Linked DNA regions of Homo sapiens: region 1 is linked to region 2. The links are contacts of gene promoters, found by promoter capture Hi-C in human tissues and cell types (Jung and others, 2019). All regions are on one chromosome and are shown on one strand. The core of a region is centred on a gene start or on the middle of the fragment in contact, and the rest is flanking DNA. Distances in the headings are between cores, read along the strand shown.

Evidence for each region. Contacts are between HindIII fragments. The study calls those that stand out against the background at their distance.
Region 1: a fragment that was not itself captured here is called in contact with the fragment with the promoter of NEUROG3 in region 2 in 1 of the 25 tissues and cell types used here (aorta).

The regions. Positions count from the first base shown.
Region 1 is chr10:69,440,199-69,443,049 of GRCh38, forward strand. No RefSeq gene overlaps it. Among named protein-coding and RNA genes, the nearest start is that of TSPAN15, 9.8 kb to the right of the region's middle. The HindIII fragment of the contact is 5,755 bases long and covers 1-2,851 here.
Region 2 is chr10:69,571,675-69,574,727 of GRCh38, forward strand. It overlaps NEUROG3 (neurogenin 3), which reads right to left and starts at 1,748. Exons shown (of 2, transcript NM_020999.4): 1 at 1,536-1,748; 2 at 24-1,370. The coding sequence starts at 1,369. The coding sequence ends at 725. LOC101929021 (a long non-coding RNA gene) reads left to right here and starts at 1,283. Exons shown (of 4, transcript XR_946037.2): 1 at 1,283-1,393. RefSeq lists an enhancer at 1-541 and a silencer at 1,799-2,018. The HindIII fragment of the contact is 13,443 bases long and covers 1-3,053 here.

The DNA.
Region 1 (2,851 bases), core at 92-2,591, 130 kb before region 2:
TCATAGACATGAAAATTAAACAGGATATTTTTCACTTAGAAAACATTTTATTGTGCAATACAGCCCATAAATAGAAGAGGACACAAACTTAAATATATAGCCGTGAGCAATACACCACCCTTTTAGCTTGAGTTTCTCTATCCACTCATGTGGATGTTGGACACAATTATGTCTAAAGATCCTCCCAGCTCTGGGACCTCTTGAATCATCACTACTGTCAGTCTTGGTTTACTGCTAATTCCCTCAATGACCTGGGGAAATAGTCTAACCTGTTTTCTCATTTGTAATTGGGCATACAAACAGCTACACACCCTGCCTCACAGCACTGATTTAGGTGGGTCCAAAAAGATTAAAAGCTTTTTTTTAGGTATAATAAACTATCAAGCAATCCAAAAAATTTTGACAGAGAAAGCCAGCCAGAAGACAGATACCTTACAACGGCGGATGCCAAGTACAGGGCCAGCCCTGCACTGTCAGGAAGGGAAGTGGCCCTGGGGGTCTCTGAGGCTTTCCCTCTGAGGGTGAGGGAAGATTTTGCCTCTACTCTCTGAGGGTTTCATACACACACACACACACACACACACACACACACACACACACACCCGAAAAATGAACAAGTCCCAAAAGATGCGCAGTTGCACCTGGGGTCCAGGCTGGGAAACTAGTCATATGGGAGAAGAATGACTGCATTTTTTTTTTTTTTTTTTTTTTTTTTAGACAGAGTCTTCCACTGTTGCCCAGGCTGGAGTGCAGTGGTGTGATCTTGACCCACTGCAACCTCTGCCTCCCGGGTACACAAGTGATTCTTGTGCCTCAGCCTCCAGAGTGAGATTACAGGCACCCACCACCATGCCTGGCTAATTTTTGTATTTTCAGCAGAGACGGGGTTTCATCAGGTTGGCCAGGCTGGTCTCGAGCTCCTGACCTCAAATGATCTGCCCACCTTGGCCTCCCAAAGTGCTGGGATTACAGGCGTGAGCCACCGTACCTGGCCTGACATCTGCATGTTTCTATTTGAGGAGAACTCCCTTCCACCATGTTCTTTTATAGAGGTGTGACCTCATCCTTACAAATGGAGGTACAATATATTTTGGGAAATAGTTATTATTATATTGAACTTAATGTTGTGTGTGCTGCCCCACATACCCGCCCCACTGGGAGGGTACATCATATTACATCATGAAATGGCCCAGCACCCCTATGCTTAGTGACCCGCTAGCCTTCCCCAACTCATGCACCCAGCCATTACCCAGGGGCAGTGCACAATCAGAGCCTGTCGCCTCAAAAAGGCTCACTGGACACAGTAGAACTCTAGCAGGCTCTGCCAGCTCCTGATCGCATTCCCAGCCCTGGGACCCCAGCCTGGAGTGACCATCTCCTGTAGCATATAACCACTTGCCAGATTCAAGACCCTCTAGTTTGGTTCTGTCATCTGGCCTGGGCCATTGTCCCCAGGACTCCCCAGATGTCCCCTTCTAAAGGCTGAAGATAGTTCCTCTGTGGGTTCCATAGGCTTCATACACCTGCTGGTATCACCTCTCTGCTCCCCCGACCACTGATGGGGATAAAGGCCCAGAAAGCCTGCTGAAGTCTCAGAACTTAAAGAACCTGACTTATGTCCCACTTCCACCCCCAAACACACAGACAGAACCTCAGGGTATGAAGAGCAGTTCCCACCACACTCAATACCTTTCTACATCACCTTCAATGACTGCACAGGGCTCACAGCATGGTTGTGCCAATCACCCAGTAATAGACACCATGGTTGGTCAGTTAGGTCTTCATGAGGCCATCCACTCTCCCCAGCTGGTAGTCAGGAGCAGCCTTTCAGCAGGGAGAGCAGGGGACAGGAGGAAGGACAGGAGTCCTGGGGTGGGGGCTGCAAGGACGGCTGTTCAGTAACCAAAGGTAGGAATGGGCCTAGGGATGCATGGAAGAGGATCTGGGCAGTCGGCCTTCTGTGGGGGCAGTGGTGGGGCTGCAGAAAGGAAGCCAAAAGGAGCAGGGCTTTTAGAGGCAGCTCTCTGAGGGATTTCCAAAACAAGAAGCCGCTGGGGTGACCCAGGCCCTTCTGAGTAATGAGCATTTTGCATGTCCTTGGAGGCTGTTGTCCCAAATCCCCTCGGGCCCAAAGTCACTAAAGTGTGCCCATCACCCCATGCAGGACCCTAAGCGGTGTGATCATAGCCTAGTCTGGTTGTTTGACAATCATTGCAGAATAAGTTGTGTAATTTGCAAAGTCAAGCACAAAACATAAATAATCACTGTTGTCTTTAATTTTCCTCTTAAGTATAGAGCATAAAACTTTGAGGAGGTTGCTTTCAACTTCAAAAGAATTAGGAACTAGTGCCATGGGATAGCATTTCCCGAAGTACATTTCCAGATATGCTAGTTCCTTGAGATGTTAATAGCTGGTGTCTGGGGAAAATGTTGTGTCCTCAAATACAGTTGAGAGAGGCTACACATCCTTCTTTCCTCTTAGAGACACACAATACTGCATCCGTTCTCATTAAAGGCTATGAAGAAGTCCTGCAGTATTTCCCAGACTTATTTAATGGATCCTTTTTTAAAAAACAAACAAACAAACACTTAAAATCTCTTGGAACTACTATTTTGCAGTAACCTGCCTCTCCATGTAAAGTTTCAACTCCAACCAGTATTGAACTGCCAATATTTGAGCTGAGTGTATTGTTCCAATTTGCTTTTTAACCACTTAGTTAAATGATTTTATTCTAACATAGCTGGGGCTACAACTGCATTGGAGTAAAAAGCACATTGCTTGCTGGGTCAGGGGGCACTTTAACTTCTTTTTTTTTTTTTTTTTTTGAGATGGAGTCTCGCTCTGTTGCCC
Region 2 (3,053 bases), core at 498-2,997:
GATTTAAAAAAAAAAGATGCGCGGTGCTCCAGGCACCTGCAGCGCAGCTCACGTTTCAGGCGCAGTTCGCAGGGAGGCTGGGGAGATGCTCCCTGGCCGGGCTAGCGCTTTCCCAGTTCACAGCCTGGTCTTCCGCCCCGGGAGGGCAATGGCTCCGAAAAGTGCACGAGGAGAAGGCAGAGGGTCGCCTTCGTGGCTTTAAGGCAGAGTGAGGCGCCCTGAAATCCCGGACCTGATTGGGAGTAGAGCAGATCGGCAGCGTCTTTGGAGCAAGGCAAGGGGAGTAAGCGCTGAGAGACCAAACATTGGATTGAATCACATTGGAGGAGGGGTGGTAAGAGACTGAGAGGCAGACAGACTTGAGTGAGGGTAGGGCGACCCAAGACGGTGGGCGGCTCCGGCCGGGTAGTGCTACCATTCTAGTATTCTTTGAATGAGATTATGGGGTGGTGGCAGAGAGGAGGCCTAAAATGAGCGCACTTTGCAATGCCCACTTCGCGCGGGCAGCAGCAAGGGTTGCGTGCGTTGGCGCGGCTCGGAGGGCCGGGGAATGAACCCAGCCTGCCGCCCCCGTGGAGGCCTGGGCCGGCCAGGGGTCAGCCAGGGAGAAGCAGAAGGAACAAGTGCTTTTGAGGGCCGCCGCCGTCGGCCACCCTCTACGGCTCCCGGCTCCCTCCCTCTCCCTTACCCTTAGCACCCACAGCCCAGCGACAGACAGGTCCTTTCACAGAAAATCTGAGAAAGCCAGACTGCCTGGGCTCAAGCAGGCGGAAAAGGTGGCCCCCAGCAGCCCGGGTCGCTCCTCCAGCGACGCGGCGGGACTCAGGCTGCCAGCCTGGGAGACTGGGGAGTAGAGGGACCCCCAGTCCCCGGGGGAACCGCCTGGGCTGCCCAGCTCCCCGCAGTGCGGCGCCGGCGGCTCCAGCGCGTACAAGCTGTGGTCCGCTATGCGCAGCGTTTGAGTCAGCGCCCAGATGTAGTTGTGGGCGAAGCGCAGCGTCTCGATCTTGGTGAGCTTCGCGTCGTCTGGGAAGGTGGGCAGGACACCGCGCAGGGCGTCCAGTGCCGAGTTGAGGTTGTGCATTCGATTGCGCTCGCGGTCGTTGGCCTTCTTTCGCCGACTCCGTCGCTGCTTGCTCAGTGCCAACTCGCTCTTAGGCCGGCTGCGTCCCCCGCGCCGTGCCCGGAGCTTCCTCGGGGCCCCTCGGCAGCCTCCCTCTTCCGCCTCTGCGCAGTTCCCCCGTGTGCGAGTGGGGCTGGGCGGGGCGGACGTGGGGCAGGTCACTTCGTCTTCCGAGGCTCTGGGGAAGGACCGCTCCGTCTCACGGGTCACTTGGACAGTGGGCGCACCCGAGGGTTGAGGCGTCATCCTACGGCGGGGTCAGAGGGAAGGGTAAGTTTGAGTCCGTCACTGGGCGCAGTCCGCGATTCCGAGGCTAGGTGGGAAAAAACAAAAACAGCCATCCTCCCAGCCCCCGCTGGGTCAGAGGATCCCTCTTTCCCCTGCCCGTCCCTCGGAGGCCTCCAAATATTACCTTTCTACCGGCGCAAAAGAATAGAGAGCGATGAGCAGCGAGGGCCGTGGGGAGCTCAGCGGGCTTCTGGTCGCCAAGTTCAGCTGAGCTGCAGGCGCCCCCGCCTGGGAGTTGCCCCAGCCCCAAAGGAGAAAAGAAGAGAGAATGGGGTCCGAGGCCTCTGTCACGCTCTCTCTCGAGGCGCGGCGGTGAGACCGCAGGGATTTCCTGAGCAGCAAGTCGTGTGCCCCTTGGCACGCTTTATCTGCTTCGCCCGGGCCAGGAGCGTGCCTGCCCGGCTGCTGCCCGCGCCACCGGCCAATCAGCGCCGGGGCCCTGGGGCCGCGCCACGCGAGCCCGCTCCTCCCCCGCAGGGCACAGCTGGATTCCGGACAAAGGGCCGGGGTCGGGGGAGGGGAGCGCCGCTCTGTTTGCTCTCTCGAGGGCGGGCTGGGTCCCAGCAACTCTCGGTTCCTCAAAGAGCCTCGCCCAGTGAGAAGAGCCTCGTGTGGCTCTGGTCAGGCCACCTCAGACGGCTTTGCTCCTAGCCTATCTTTCCTTAGCATCTGTCCTGGAGGGGACTTTGATGCCTCTAGGGTACAATGCCTGCACGTTACACATGGGGAAATTTAGGCTTAGTGAGGGAGGTGGCTTGTCTGAAATCGCACAGGAAGATAGTGGCAAAGACAACCACGAGCTCATTGTCCTGACTAGCAGCCTGGAGAAGGGTCCAGGAATTCTAAAGGACGCCCTGCTCTCCTGGTGTTTCACTGCCTCTCTTCATCCTGGAAGACAGGGGACATCACTGAGAGAGATCCTGCCTATGTCCCTTCCATTCGCAGACCTTTTGGGGGTGTCCGAGCCTCTGCCACACCCTGAGATGCTACCTCACACTCCCCAGAGGCGCTTAGAACCCCACCCCCATAGATCCCACTCCAGAGGCAGGGGTTGGCTGTGCGGGGACCCCTCAAGCGGACATTCCATTACTACAAGCCTACTACAGCTTGTAGATAGTATCCCAGCGTTCTGGCCAGGAACCGTGACAGGAAGAGTTCTGGGAAGTGTGAGGAGGGGAGGAAGGAACCAGGAGTTCACAGTGAGCTCTTGCTTCTTTTTTTTTTTAAACGAACAAACAAAACCAAAAAACGGTCTCCTTCTGTCGCCCAGGCTGGACTGCAGTGGTGCAATCACAGCTCACTGCAGCCTTGATCTCCTGGGCTCAAGCTATCCTCCCACTTCAGCCTTCCCAGTAGCTGAGACTACAGGCATGCGCCACTGTGCCCGGCTAATTTATTTGTATTTTTATTTTGTATGGGGTGAGGGGCGGTCTTGCTTTGTTGCCCAGGATGGTCTCGAACTCCTGGGCTCAAGCGTTCCTTTCACTTCAGTCTCCCAAGGCGCTGGGAAGCAGAGCTGCTGTGCCCCTCCCCCTCGTGTCTTTTGAACTACCACAGCGTGCAGGCACTGGGAGAAGCTGATAAACTTTTTCTCCCCTTAGTCCTCCGGTCCAATCACAGACAGACAGCAGCTGCCAGCAGT